Linked DNA regions of Homo sapiens: region 2 is linked to region 1. Evidence: promoter capture Hi-C in 16 types of primary human blood cells and fetal thymus (Javierre and others, 2016). All regions are on one chromosome and are shown on one strand. The core of a region is centred on a gene start or on the middle of the fragment in contact, and the rest is flanking DNA. Distances in the headings are between cores, read along the strand shown. Region 1 holds the start of AJUBA (ajuba LIM protein). Region 2 overlaps ACIN1 (apoptotic chromatin condensation inducer 1).

What was found. The method cuts DNA at HindIII sites, captures the fragments that hold promoters and counts their contacts. A CHiCAGO score of 5 or more calls a contact.
Region 2: a contact is called between a fragment that was not itself captured here and the fragment with the promoter of AJUBA in region 1, in 1 of 17 cell types (erythroblasts). The highest score is 5.5, in erythroblasts.

Annotation. Positions count from the first base shown.
Region 1 is chr14:22,981,273-22,988,214 of GRCh38, forward strand. It overlaps AJUBA (ajuba LIM protein), which reads right to left and starts at 1,279. Exons shown (of 8, transcript NM_032876.6): 1 at 1-1,279. The coding sequence starts at 994. It overlaps C14orf93 (chromosome 14 open reading frame 93), which reads right to left. Exons shown (of 7, transcript NM_021944.4): 6 at 6,631-6,743; 7 at 4,622-6,362. The coding sequence ends at 5,943. It overlaps AJUBA-DT (AJUBA divergent transcript), which reads left to right and starts at 3,052. Exons shown (of 3, transcript XR_007064074.1): 1 at 3,052-3,548. RefSeq lists enhancers at 328-1,293, 1,294-2,259 and a silencer at 5,459-5,568. The HindIII fragment of the contact is 4,726 bases long and covers 1-1,955 here.
Region 2 is chr14:23,068,742-23,076,102 of GRCh38, forward strand. It overlaps ACIN1 (apoptotic chromatin condensation inducer 1), which reads right to left. Exons shown (of 19, transcript NM_001386863.1): 9 at 735-876. Among named protein-coding and RNA genes, the nearest start is that of CDH24, 15 kb to the left of the region's middle. RefSeq lists enhancers at 1-245, 393-442, 523-612, 2,643-2,712. The HindIII fragment of the contact is 4,139 bases long and covers 3,624-7,361 here.

The DNA of each region.
Region 1 (6,942 bases), core at 29-2,528:
CCCTGGCCTCTGGCTCCCGCATCCGGGCCCGGGCGGCCTCCGGAACGAAAGGACCTGGTGGCTCCTCCAGACCCGACGGCTCAATCCCCGAGGGTTCTCCGCGGGCTCCGGCTTCTCGCCCACCGGTGCCCACCGTCAGGCGAAGCAAAGCTGTTAGCTCGTCCTGGTACCGGGCGCCCACGGCGCAGTCCCCGTAGCCGGTCACAGAGTGTCGTCCGGGTTGCGCCCCCCGTCTCTCCAAGGGCCCCGCCGCTCCCACTCCGGCCCCGGCTAGAGCTCCAGGGCTGCCCAGGGCCGGGGGATACGAGTGGCGGCTTTCCTGGCAGCCGAACCCCGCGGGCCGCTGAGCGTACAATCGGTCCAGGGCGGCGTGGAGCTCCGGGTAGGCGGACGGGACCCCTCCGGGAGAATAGCCTGCCGGTGCTCCGGCCAGGGGTGGGCCAAACAGGCACGGCCCCGCTGGCAAGGGGCTCCCGTGGCGCTGGTCGTAGCCCATGCTGATGCCGCTGGTGCGATTGCTGCAGGGCCGGCTACCTCCAGCTCCGCCAGCCCCCGCCCCGTCCAGCAGCAGGCTGCCCCGGGGGCTGGACGGCTTGCTCGCGTCGCTGGCCGAGCTACTGGCGAAGCTAGAGCGGGGGCTGAGGGCCGGGGCCGTGGGCTCCAGCCGAAAATCGGGGGGCAACGACTGAGGTAGAGGCAAGGCCCGGGTGGGCGGCGGCCCCGCGGGAAAAGAGCCTTCGTAGCGCGGCGCCTCAAAGGAGCCGCGCTGATTTCGCTCAGCGTCCAGGGAACCTTGCTCCCGGGCCGGCTCCAACGGCTCATCCCCAGGTCCCCCAGTAGCTCCTCGGGGCCCTGACTTCCTAGGTCCCCCCAACCCACTTAGGCGCCCCTTGCCCGGCCCGGGGGTCCCGTCAGACCCAGACCGGCTAGATTCACCCTTTCTGCGGCCGAACTTCTCCAGCAGGCGACTGGCTTTCTCTCCTAACCGCTCCATGCCCTCGGGCCTGGGGCCTCTCGCCCCCTCCCCGCCTGGCACCCTGCGGCGTCTCGGCGGCCGGTTCTCTTTCCCTGCAGCCGGACTCTGGTTCCCCAGGGGCACAGGGGAGGCACAGGGGCTTAGCGGGCGGCCTGGATGCCCTGCGCCAGGAATCCCACAGCATCCCCCAGCGGGAGGGGCTGCGTCCCCCCGCGCATCTGGGGCTGAGCGGGGCTAGCAGGGTCTCTGGCCGCGGCTGTCCAGTCCGCAGGTCTATCTGTTCACGCGTCGACTCGCCCGACTGCCCCACTCTCCCCGGCCCCCGCCCCCCTAGCTCTCACGCTAGCCACAGACCGAACTTCTCTCCCAAACTTTTGTCTGCCTGGCCGGATCTACTTTCCTAGGGGGGCGGAGCGCGGTGTGTGCGAGAGCGCCGGGGGTGTCCGCGCAGGGATAGCTGGTGTGCGTGCAGCGGAAGGCGCTAACTGCCCTGGATGTGGAGACCCGCGGACTGGACGTGAGAGGCGGGCAGGGGCAGTTGGGGCAGCTGCCCCTACAACACTGAAGAATTGGAATAGGAAAGAGTGTGGGGGTAGGGGACGGGGACTCTTTGTCTGCAGTTGGAATGCGCGGAGGGGCATGGTGGAATGTGTCGCGTCCCGGGACCGGACGACAGGAGGCATGTTCTGCGCTAGCACCGTGACTTTGTTCCCAGCGTGGGGACTGTGGGAGAGATGGAGAGAGACTGGTACAGAAATGGTGAGACAAGGAGAGAGCCATAAAGAGGAAGACAGAGAGAAAGAAGACAAATGCATAAAGAGGTTCAGAGACGTGTACGTAAAGATAGCCCTGAAAGGCGACGAAGCCCACAGAGAGAGGTGGAAGAGGGAAGAGGTAGCGAAAGAAAGGGAGAGCTGAGGAGCAAAGAGGAGTGTGGACGATGCAGAGACCGAAGGGTGCGCAGACAAAGGAAAGGACAAGCTTGTCCAGAGAGAATGAGAGACAAACAGATAAACTGCAATAAAAAGGCACCACCTTCTGGACCCAAAAGTTTTGTGATTTGTAAAAGCAGTGAAAAGGAGTCAGGAAAATGGGACTAATCTCTACTTTGAGAGGGAGGGAAAGAGATATAGTGTGTATGTAGAAGCAGTGAAAAGGAGTGAGGAAAAGGTTTGGGACTAATCTCTACCTTAAGGGTAGGACAGTTAGAGGGATAGACACCCCCTGGTGTTGGGAAATGAGATTTTTCTCATTTCAGGTGACTGTGGAGATCGAAGGCCTGGTTTTAGGGCTAGCGAACACCTTCTCCCTTTGGTTTTGGTCCACAGAAGACTGGTGATACAGAGTAAGTATTAAGAGGAAGAAAAGAAATGCCGTGTAGAGGAAATTGCAAATGAAAATGATCAGGATGGAAAAGAGGCTGATATTGACTATTTTAAAAGGATCAAGAATAAGGAAAAGAAACCCTGGCTGAAGCAGCCGGGCGCGGTGGCTCACGCCTGTAATCCCACCACTTTGGGAGGCTGAGGCGGGCGGATCACTTGAAGTCAAGAGTTCAGACCAGCCTGGCCAACATGGTGAAGCCCTATCTCTACTAAAAATACAAAAATTAGCCAGGCGTGGTGGCGCACGCCTATAGTCCCAGCCACTCGAGAGGCTGAGGCGGGAGAATCGCTTGAACCCGGGAGACAGAGGTTGCAGTGAGCCAATATCACGGCCACTGCACTCCAGCCTGGGCGACAGAGCAAGACTCCGTCTCAAAAAAATTCTCAAAAATAAATAATAATTTTTTTTAAAGAAACCCTAGATGAAGCTAAACATACCTAATTAAATACCAGCCAACGGCCGGGAGCGGTGGCTCACGCCTGTAATCCCAGCACTTTGGAAGGCAGAGGCGGCGGGATCACGAGGTCAGGAGTTTGCAACCAGCCTGGCCAGTATGGTGAAACCCCGTCTCTACTAAGAATACAAAAATTAGCCGGTGTGGTGGCGTGCACCTGTAGTCCCAGCTACTTGGGAGGCTGAGGCAGAAGAATCGCGTGAACCCAGGAGGCGGAGGTTGCAGAGAGCCGAGATTGTGCCATTGCACTCAGGCCTGGGCGATAGAGGGAGATTCCGTCTCAAAAAAATTTTTTAAAAACCAGCCAACTACTTTTGCCCAGACTAAAACATCAGGGGCAAGGGGTGGAGGAAGTAGAATGGAGAAGGAAAATGACTCCTTTGTATTTAGATAGTAAATGAGTATGAAAATTATATGCAAACAAGTCATGCATATTATTTTCATCTCAACATTTTGAACACCTTTTATAATCTTAGTGTAGCCTTAGGGAATGTGGAAAGAAACGAGGTTAATATCTTTTGGGAAATTAATTTGTGCCAAACTATTTGGCTTCTTCGTCCTAGTTGCATTGTCTCCCTGACCTCATCTCCCCTGAGAATCAGCCTCTGTTTCCCTGGTCAAGGCCACGGCTTTTCTCTGATCCTGAGGAGAGTTTCCTACCAGAGTGGAAGCAGGGAGGACTGAAAGCACTAGGAACAGAGGGGAGCTATCGGATTGCATCTAGAACCTGCTGTGAGCAACATCTTCAGAATTAACCATAATGTGTTCCCTCCTTTCCTGTGTCCAGATGAGGAAGGAGAACTTTGATTCTTCCTTCCAATTACATCCAAAATATCCACACAACTACTAATATTTGGAAGCTTTGATCCTTTGGGGTGAGGATGCGAGAGGAAATCTTATGAAATGTTGGGAGGCCATTAAAGGAGGCCCATGCAAGAGTTGGTGGTAGCAATGGGCACAACTGGGATGAACAGCCTGTGTTTTCAAGGGATAACTGGAAGCAGAGATGAGTGAAGGGGAAGAAGTAGAAGACGCATATGCTAATAGGGCATGCTCCAATAGTGCTCATGACCTCAGGTGGCCTCTCCACAGTCTAAACTGGAGCTGGGATCTCCAAAGGCCCTCTTCGTTCCCAAGACTTTAATTATAATCTGTATATGCAGGTGACTCCCTAATCCATATTTCCAGCCCAGTCTTTCTTGGAATTAAAAACTCAACTAACTACTAGCATCTCCAATGGCTGTCTCAGAAGCACCCAATATCCTAAACTGATCTCATCTTCTCTGCCTCATGAAACTGGCTCCTCTAACATTCTCTGAGTAAATGGCACAATCCTGTTAGCTGCTTAAACTAGAAATCTGAGCGTCAACCCTATGTCCTCCTTCTCCCTTAACCTCAAATCCAACCAAGTCCTATCAATCACCAAGTTCTATTAATTCTGCTTCCTAAACATCTTCCAAATCTGTCCTCCCCTCATCACCACTATATATGTCAAGTCACCGTCTTTCCTCTCCGAAACCAATGCAAAAGTCTCCTGGCCAAGGCTTGCTCCCTGCAATCCATCTTATACCCTGAGGTCAAGTGATTTTTTTCAGTACAGAAGCTTTACGACTTACAATGGAGTTATGTCTGAATAAACCCATCCATTATAAATTGAAAATATCGTAAGGCAGAAGTGCTTCTTCAACTTCACCATATTTTCAGCTTAAAATGGGTTTATCTGATATAACTGCATCATAAGGTGAGGAGCATACTGAATCATTTCGCACCATCGTAAAGTTGAAAAATCCTAAGTCGAACCATCGTTGAGTTGGGGACTGCCTGTAGGCAAAACCTGTCGTTTTATTTCCCTGCTAAAACAAACTTTCAATGATTTCTCACTGCCCTTGGGTTGAAGTCTGTACTCTGTATTATGAGGTCTGTCTCACTCTCCAGCCTCTCCTCTAGCATTATCCCTTCCCCAAAAGTCTGCAGTAGAACTGGACCTTGTCTGTACTCTCTCTTGCCCCTGGACTTTTGTACCTGCAGTTCCCTGTTTGGAACACTCTCTTAGCCTCCCCTTTCCTTCTGGTTAACTCTTCCCCAGTTTAGACATTACACCCTCTCAGAAGAAGCCTTTCCAGACTGCAAGAGTAGGTTAGCTACCCCTGCTGTATATTGCCATAGTGCACTACACTCCACCATGGTCACCCTTATCACAGTTCATTTCATTGCCTACTCCACTGCCTGGCTTCCTGACTAAACTAAAAAAATCTCTGAACAGCATCCAACCTTATCAACAATGTATCCATAGCACAGTACCTGACACCTAGTAAAGCGATCAATGTTTGTTATAAGACTGAATAAATGTAAAGCCATTTTTGCTTTTCAATCCATCCAAAATGCACACCCCTTCCTCAAAATACAGCTTGGCTGACAGGACCAAGAAACAGCTACAAAGCTGTGTATTTTGCTTGGTCACATAGTGAGAGAGAGGCTGCCGGTGAGACACGGGAACTCTTTAAGCCTTAATTTCCTCATCTGTAAGATAGGAATAGTAAAATTTTCCTCATGTAATTCAATAAACAATAGCTATTATATCAGGAACCCAATTCCCCAATAGTGATAGAACTTGTGTTCCCTTGGTCAGAAGACTCAAGCTCATGACTGAAACTGCCCACCAGGTGGCGGTATTAACCTGCACTGGTCATGTTCGGTTTCCACTGCAGAGCAAGACAAGTAGTCACAGGGAAGCAAAAGGTACAACCTGGGCTGCTTCCTCAGAGCTTTGGGTGGAACTGGGCAGGGGCAGAAACAACTCAGAGACAGGGCATATGTCAAGAAGGCCTCATGTTTCTTGGACCCATCCTCCTCATTTTCTCATCCCAGGCTTCTCCGAGATACTGTTTATGCTGAGGAATAAGCATATTCTGGCTTACTGTTCACAGTGGAGGGAGTTTCTCCCCTTCTAGATAAGTTTTTATCCCACCAGTGTTCTGCTTCCCCAGTAGAGACTGTGTTAAGAAAAGAGGCAAATTTGCTTTCTCAGACTGCACAGAGCATCTCATTATTTTGTGAAGCCCCATGGCCACCTATTTCTGAGACATGGGGCATGGCGGAAGCCAGAGTTATTCTTGGCTGTAGATTTTATTCATCCTTTTCCACCTTGATTTCAATGAATGAGTTCAAGTCAGGACAGCAGGTTTTGTGGGGTTGGTCAAAAGATGGGGAGCCAGGTGCATTCTCATCCCCTCCCTCATCTTCCTCTTCTTGGAAATTAGGATTGTAAAGTTCTGGTGGAAGGAGCTGGGCTTCAGCAGAAGGCAGTCTGTCTGAGGGAGGCCCATACACACGGTTGGCTTTGGTGCCATGCTTAGAGTTAGCATCCAGGTGGTAGCAGAGCTCTGTGAGGCGCTGGGCCCGGAAACGGGGAGGGCGGGCCACCCACACACCTGGCTCGTTAAGACTGTCCTCTTCATCTGACATCAGTTCCTCTGTCACATCATTCCACAGACGTTGGTCCTCAGGTCCAAAATGCCTCATGATACTGGATCGGTTGGCAAAAAGCTAAGGCAGGAACCCAGGAGATAGATTAGGAAGGTAAACATTCTATGGATTAGATTTGGGGAAAAGGTTTGGTGGGGAAGGCTGTGTAAAATCTGTGCCTAAGTGAACCCAGTCCCCAAGTCAGATCTTAGCATTGGCTCACTGTTCTTCTCTATCTTCCTACATTCCTGGCTCTCAACCCTATTCTCATATGCCATGTCCTCTGGCCCTTCCCACTTAGGAAAGGGTTTAGAGTTTAGTATCTTGAAAGAAAGGCCTAGAAACCTACCCGATATCGGCGACTTCGAAGTTTCTTCTCCTCTTTTTCCTTCAGGCCTTTAAAGGGGTTCAGGGAGTTGCGGTACTCACGCCTCTTAGTAAGGAAGTAGGCCACACAGGCTCCTGGCGGGGAGGGAAGGAAGGGAGCAAGAAGGAGGGTCCTCTGAGTAGTGGTCCCCAGCCCGTTTTTCTGCCCTAACACTATTGAATGGGAGGTTGGCGATCACTACTTAGATGAGGGCTTTTTTTTTTTTTTTTGAGATGTAGTTTCACTCTTGTTGCCCAGGCTGGAGTGCAATGGCACAATCTCGGCTTACCACAA
Region 2 (7,361 bases), core at 4,443-6,942, 92 kb after region 1:
CGGCCCCCACCCCCGCAACACACACCAGAAAAAGGCTACACACACAACAGTCCCTCCCACCTTGTTACCCCTCTCCTAAACCCAGCTCATTCTTTCTCAATTACTTTAAGAGCCAAGAAGACTTCGCTGGCTCTGATGGGGGAAGCCCCCTGAAGTGGGTGCAGGACACAAGATAACATATGCCAAAAAAGGAGGTAGAGGGGTCACAGGTAACTGAGAATGGGCCTTCCGGATCACAAGTGCTGGCTTCTAAGTAGCTACATCTCTGCAGTCAGACCACTGGAGGGCAGAGGAGGAACAAAAATTTCTCAGCATGGCTGGTCTGGTGAGAACCACCAATGTCCACTAGATGGCGTTGGGCTCCATCAGGCTTTTAAAAAGGAGGGAAAGCTAAAGGAGTTACCACCAGGAGAAGCTTGGGAAGACAGCAGGAAAAGCTGAACATAAATCTTAGATAAAGGGCCATTATCAGACTTTCCCGTTAGTTACAAACGTCTAGAGTCTGGGCACTACTTCCCCAACAAGGAAAGGAAAATGAATGAGCCCTGTCCCCGTCACAAGGGGTCTCCCTTGCTAAACCAGCGAATTCTCCCTTGGCCCTATTCTGATCCAAGTCCCTGCCTCATCCCTCCTTTAAGTTAACCCACCGTGTAAGAGGGATCACTAGAGTGCTCTACTCTTTCCCCTAGGTCCATTCCTGCCCACCCGCCCCAATAGGTGGCTTGGATGTTTACCTCTTTCTTCTCCTCATCTTCAACACTGCCCTCCGGGCGGTCATCATTGCTGACTTGGTCTGCAATAGGCATGGGAGGTTCTGGAACATCATTTTCAGGTCTGTTTTCACTTGTGTCCATGGTCACTTCCTCCTTCTCCTCACTGACAGGAGGGGGGAGTGGTGGTGGGGGGGCGGGCAGAAAAGAACCAAGGGGAAGAGAGAGCAAGATGTTAGTTACTGGGTCAGGAAACCCTCCTGCCTCATCACTTGGGTGGGATTAGGAGGGCTGCTTTTCTGATCAAGGTTAGAGACCTTGTCCCAATGGGAAAAGTGGGAAATAGATTTTCCTTGGGGAAAGAGCGTGGATCACAGCAACCACATCCACCTATTGCCCAGATGAGTTAAAAGTTGTCATTTGTGGGGTTAGGACTCCAACTATTCTCAGGTAATAACTCACCAGAGTACTCCTATATGAAAGGAGAAAAACCCTCCTCTGAAAATAGTCCCACAAAAGTGACTGTGATTTGCCCACAACCCTGTGGCCTCAGTCTCCCTGGCCAAAGGCACCTTTATATGGCAAAATTGCACGAGAAACGAAGGGAAGCCCGATTCCCTTAAAAAGACAAGAAAGAATGGCCAAGGCTTTGGCAAAAAAGCCTGACCTGTGTTTAATCAACTGCTTAATAAGTAAAGGCCTGCTGATCCTCAGGATCTGGAGACACCAGCATGGAGAAAATGGTGGGGGGTGGGGGGTGCGGGGCGGGGGGTGGGAGCTGCAGGGAAGAAGCAGGCCTGGTGAAGGTTCAAGCTTCAAGGACCCTCTCTCATTCAAAAGGAAAAATTAAAACTGCTGAATTGAGTATGAGAGCTCAGAGATTAGGGCCACTTTTACCTGCTCAGAGGTGTAGAAACTGTTCCTACATTCGGCTTTCACCCAGTTTCTCCCACTCCCTCATTCCAACTTCCAAGAGATAAAGAGAGCAGGCCTCCTAGTCAGGACACACCCTCCCCCACACAGGCAGCTTCCCCCAAGAACACCAAACCCACTCTCCCACTCTTAATCTCACAAGTTAGCTCCCATTTCAGGCAAAGAATCCCAGAGATTCACTTCAGATAAACTATCTTTCCACCTTTGATTTCTGTCTTCGTCCCCAACTTCTATCTCAAATCTCACCCCCTCTACCACCCAAACACCAAGCAAAAAAAATCAAATCAAGATGATCAGAGGCCTAAGGCTCAGGAGAGGGGAAACCAAGCCTCCCAGGCCGATAACCACCACCAGAAAAGTCAGCATTCCCAACAGGCTGACTGACTGACACTCAGAGGTCAGAAGAACCTCCCTAGAGCAGTCAAGAAGGGATGCACTAGGGGGGTTAGGGGGAGGGGAAAATCGGAACTGTGCCCCCAGCTAAACAGGCCCCCAGAGAAACACGAGATTTAGCTGCTTACATCTAGAGAAAAGGCTTATACAAAAAAAATATCTATTTCCCATACAGAAAGGGCATGTGGGGCCAATTAGAAACTGGGCAGGCAGGACAAAGGGGGAAGGCAGAATGACTGAAAACAAACCAAAACGAAAGACGGAATGAAAGCCATGAGGAAGAGAAGGAAGACGAAGGGAGCTAGGGCGGCGGGGAAAAGGCATACATGGAAATGTGAAGCTCTCACCCTTCTTTGCTTTCTGATAACATGATTTTTTTTCTCCCCCTGGAAGTGCTGTTTATCCCTTTCTGGAATGGAAGAAATAACAAAAACCAAACAAAAAAAATCCTAAAAAAAATAAAGAAAAAAAACCACACCTTCCTTGTTCCAAGATCCCACCACCTCCTCCCCAGCCACCCGATCCAGAGAGAGAAAATTGAGATGTAGCAACCGGGGATCCAAAAAATGGTAAATGGAAGGGGAGGTGGTGGTGGTGCGGGGAGGCTAAAACAGATCTGGCTTTTAAGAGATAAGCGTTAAGTCCTCACGGCAAACCCCGAGTTCGGCTGGATTGGTCTCTCTGGAGAAGGAGGAAGAGGGCCAGGCTGCTGGTAGTGGCTGGCTCTATTGTATTGGCGGAGCGGCAGCGATCAGCCGGAGACATGCAGGGGAGCCATCTTGCCACTTACCCAGCAGCCTGTGTGTGCGGATGGGGGAGGGCCTTGCTGCAGCAGGGGAGGGGAAAGAAAAGAGGGAGGGAGCTGAGTGAGCAAGGTTCTTATCCTTTGGCAGGCCACAGGGAGCCGACTGCTGGCTCCAGAGGCCTGGCCTTCTTTTCTCAAGTTACAGCAGCTACAGAGGCTTAACCCCCCAGGGCTGGAGTGCTCCCTCCTGGTCTTCCCAGGGGGCAGGGGAGGGGGCTGGGTGGAGGACATGTAAAGTTACAGCTGCTTGATTGGAAGATTCTAGAAAATAGAGAGAATAGAAGGCAGGCAAACAGTAGAGGTGGGAGTGAAAAAGGATTAAATAAGAACGATAAAGCCAAAGTTGAAAAGTGATTAAAGAAGGATGGTAATGAAAGCTGGATAGAGGGTGGGGCATGAGCAATGTTTTATGTGCCTACCATCCTCTATCCAGTAATCTAGGCATGGAACACTGAAACCAGACCAACCAGTCAGATGCTGCAGGTAGGGAGGTGGGATGGGAATTGTCACTATCCAATCACTACAGTAACTGGCTGCTCACCCCGGCAATGACCACGTGTTACTACTCCAACATGTCCTTTTCCCAGGGATGGTGGAGGGAAGTGGATAGCAGGGAGAGTTCTTTTTTCAAATACCAGTAGAAGGGGGGCAGGGTTGGTGTCTCTGAAGAGATGACAGACAACTTTGTTTTATAGAGTCTTTAATAAGGTCACCCTGCCCCAGGGTCCACTCGGGCCAGAAAAAGAAAGGATAAACAGGGCAAGGGGACCTTGGGTAGCTGAAGCTTGAAGGCCACTTCTTGAAGCAAGGGCTCCAAGGTGAGGCTCTAAAGTAGATAAGACAGTGAAGTGAGAGTGCTGCTATATGGGGCGGGGAAGATCAGCTGGGCAGAAAGCGACTGGGAACTAAGCAGAAAATATTAATCATGGGAATCTTCACTAGACCAAAGTGGGAAACAGATGCTAATAGTTCAAAAAGTGCTCAGTAGATACTCAAAATGCTTATTTGTTGACTGCAGAGATGTTCCTTTTGTGTCCTAGTGGCAGTAGAAGTTTACACTAAGATAAACTTCTGAGAACCAAAGCTCAGTGTCTCGTGTAACATTTGAGCTTTTAAGCTAGGAATGAAATTTTCTCCCCGCTGCTTAAAATCTTACACTTACAATGCCAACTGCATGCTAAAGTGGCCATATTTATACATTACTTTAAATGTTTCCTTTCACATAGTGGTCCCTGTCTGCTCAGGGTTAAGAGTGAAGACTCTGGAGTCAGACTGGCTAGCCCCACTCTGTTAAAAGTTGTGTGATAGTAGGCAAGTTCCTGGTTCTGTATATCTGTCTTGTAATCTGCAAAGTGGGCATAGTGACAATACCTATTTCATGGAACAGTGTAGTTAAGTGTTAGCTCTTAAGAGTCTGGCTTGGAGGACACCCCAAGTGAAGGTACAGATACATGTAAAATACATGCACACTTAATAGGCCATTATCTCATCTGATGCCACCTCTGGGGCTCTGAGTTTCCTCAAAAGAGTAGACTGCTTGTTTTCTGAGGCAAAGCCATTCAGTGATTGGCATGACAGGTTTTCAGCAATGCCCTTATCACTCTGTATAATAACTGCTACTTTATCTGCCCCCCATCTCTACCCTGCATAATTCCTCAAGGGTAGGGATTGCATCTCTTGGCCCCTAGCCCAGGGCCTAACACAAAGTAATGTTCCCTAACTATTTCTGAATTAGGGTGTCATTGTGGGTACCAAGTGGACACTTACTAAATGCTTGCTAACCTAAAAGTTTTCTTATTGAAAAAAAAATTTTTTGGCTGGGCATGGTGGCTCACGCCTGTAATCCCAGCACTTTGGGAGGCTGAGGTGGGCGGATCACCAGCCTGACCAACATGGAGAAACCCTGTCTCTACTAAAAACACAAAATTGGCTGGGCGTGGTGGTGCATGCCTGTAATCCCAGCTACTCGGGAGGCTGAGGCAGGAGAATCACTTGAACCCAGGATGCAGAGGTTGTGGTGAGCCGAGATCGTGCCATTGCACTCCAGCCTGGGCAACAAGAGCAAAACTCCATCTCAAAAAAAGAAAAAAATTTTTTTAATAGAATCCCCACAAACAATGTTACACCACAGAAAATGTTACCTTCAGCCATCCTCAAATAAAATGCTCTGTTTATCCACTGTCCTAAAATACTCTCAGCTGCTAATATGCCTCTGCAGAAGTGGCTGATTTTGAGAAATTTTGTTATTGAAAATTCCTTTTTTTTTTTTTTTTTGAGACGGAGTCTCACTCTGTTGCCCAGGCTGGAGTGCAGTGGCACAATCTCAGCTCACTGCAAGCTCCGCCTCCGGGGTTCACACCATTCTCCTGCCTCAGCCTCCCGAGCAGCTGGGACTACAGGCACCCTCCATTACACCCGGCTAATTTTTTGTATTTTTAGTAGAAACGGGGTTTCACTGTGTCAGCTAGGATGGTCTCGATCTTCTGACCTTGTGATTCGCGCGTCTCGGCCTCCCAAAGTGCTGGGATCACAGGCGTGAGCCATCATGCCCGGCCGAAAATTTCTTTTTTTTAAGAATAAGAATCTTACCACGTTCTCCTTTACCCTCTTAAGACACAAGAGGCGTGTGTTTTCTATTTCCCCATGATCAATTCTGTGGGACCCAACAATTCCGAACATTTTATTTTCAGACAATAATGAGGGCCGGGCATGGTGGCTCACGCCTGTAATACCAACACTTTGGGAGGCTGAGACAGGAGGACTGCCTGAGGCCAGGAGTTTGAGACCAGCCTGGCCAACATGGTGAAACCCCATCTCTATTAAAAATAGAAAAATTAGCAGGGTGTGGCAGCCGCGTCTATAGTCCCAGATACTCAGGAGGCTGAGGCATGATAATTGCTTGAACCCAGGAGGCGGAGGTTGCAGTGAGCAGAGATCGGGCCACTGCACTCCAGCCTGGGTGACAGAGTGAGACTCTGTCTCCAAAAAAGAAAAAAGATAAAGAGGAATCCTTGAAACTGTCCCCAAAATGGACTCTATCTACTTGCAGGACTAGTACCAAAACCTTGTTAACCATGTGTCAGAGCCCAACATAGCTTAACAGTCTGTGAAACTGCACAGAATAAGCAGTGGGGATATCTACCCATAAGTAAACAGTACACAAAGAAGCCCAGAAGAAAAGGGTACAACTACTTGGAGGCTAATAATATCACATTACAACTCATATGTGAATATGAGATTCAGAGAAGCTAATGGAAAAGGAAATTCCTATAGGCATATATGCTGAAATTTTAGTTATTATAGAAAATTCACGAGGAGCTGAAAAACTGACGTGAAAATTTAATAAGAAACAGTGGGACTAGATACCCTCAGAAGCATACTGGTCCCAAGATAACCTAGAACAGTATGATTTTGGGGTATATGTCCTTAGATAATTTCTCAGTGGAGCAAACTCTATTGATGACAACAAATTCTGCTTTTTCATGCATCATTTGGGATATTGGCATTGTATGTCCCCTGGGGAATATCAATTACACCATCATATTGGCTTAAGGAACCAATACCTTCCTCCTACACAGGCAGAAGGACAAACATGCATTGTACCAAGAGCCTAAAACTGCTATTGCCTGCTAGGTCTGTGCATACAGGAAGGTTGTATCTAGAGAAATCCAGGTCTGAATTAACTACAGCTGAATGATACAGCTGCCCACACAAACAAATCCCCTCTTTTCTTTCTTCCCCTTTTTTTTTTTTTTTTTTTAAGTAAAAAGAGAATACCATTATTTTCTGCTATATGGGGACATTTTTGTTATACCCATACAAGGCAGAAGACCAGAGTTTTGAACAGCACTCAACTGAAACAGGACTGAGGACCCACAAATTCCTGCTCCAAGCAATGAAAAAGACACCTTACCTCATAAATTTAGAATTCCTCAGGCACAATCAGAATCAGAATGGATTTAACCAAACACAGCAAAAAGTCAGTCAATCTCTTCCAAATGGTGACAGGTCCTTGAAGTCTAATTTTTTTTTTTTTTAACACTTTACTGCTCTGTTTTTTAAAGTCATATGACTTCTTGTTGAGACAGACAGAAAAACCAAGGTTAGGCCATAAATGGTCTTTTCCATTTTTTTTTTTTGAGACGGAGTTTCGCTCTTGTTGCCCAGGCTGGAGTGCAATGGCGTGATCTCAGCTCACCGCACCTTCCGCCTCCCGGGTTCAGGCGATTCTCCTGTCTCAGCCTCCTGAGTAACTGGGATTACAGGTGCACACCATGCCCGGCTAATTTTGTATTTTTAGTAGAGACGGGGTTTCACCATGTTGGTCAGGCTGGTCTCGAATTCCTGACCTCAGGTGATCCACCTGCCTTGGCCTCCCAAAGTGCTGCAATTACAGGCATGAGTCACCACGCCTGGCCATGCCATAAATGGTCTTTTCCATTTAGCATTGTTGATTACGCTTTCAAAATTGGCCAGAGCTCTAGAGGGCTGCCAGACTGCACACTTAACACTCTGGAGGG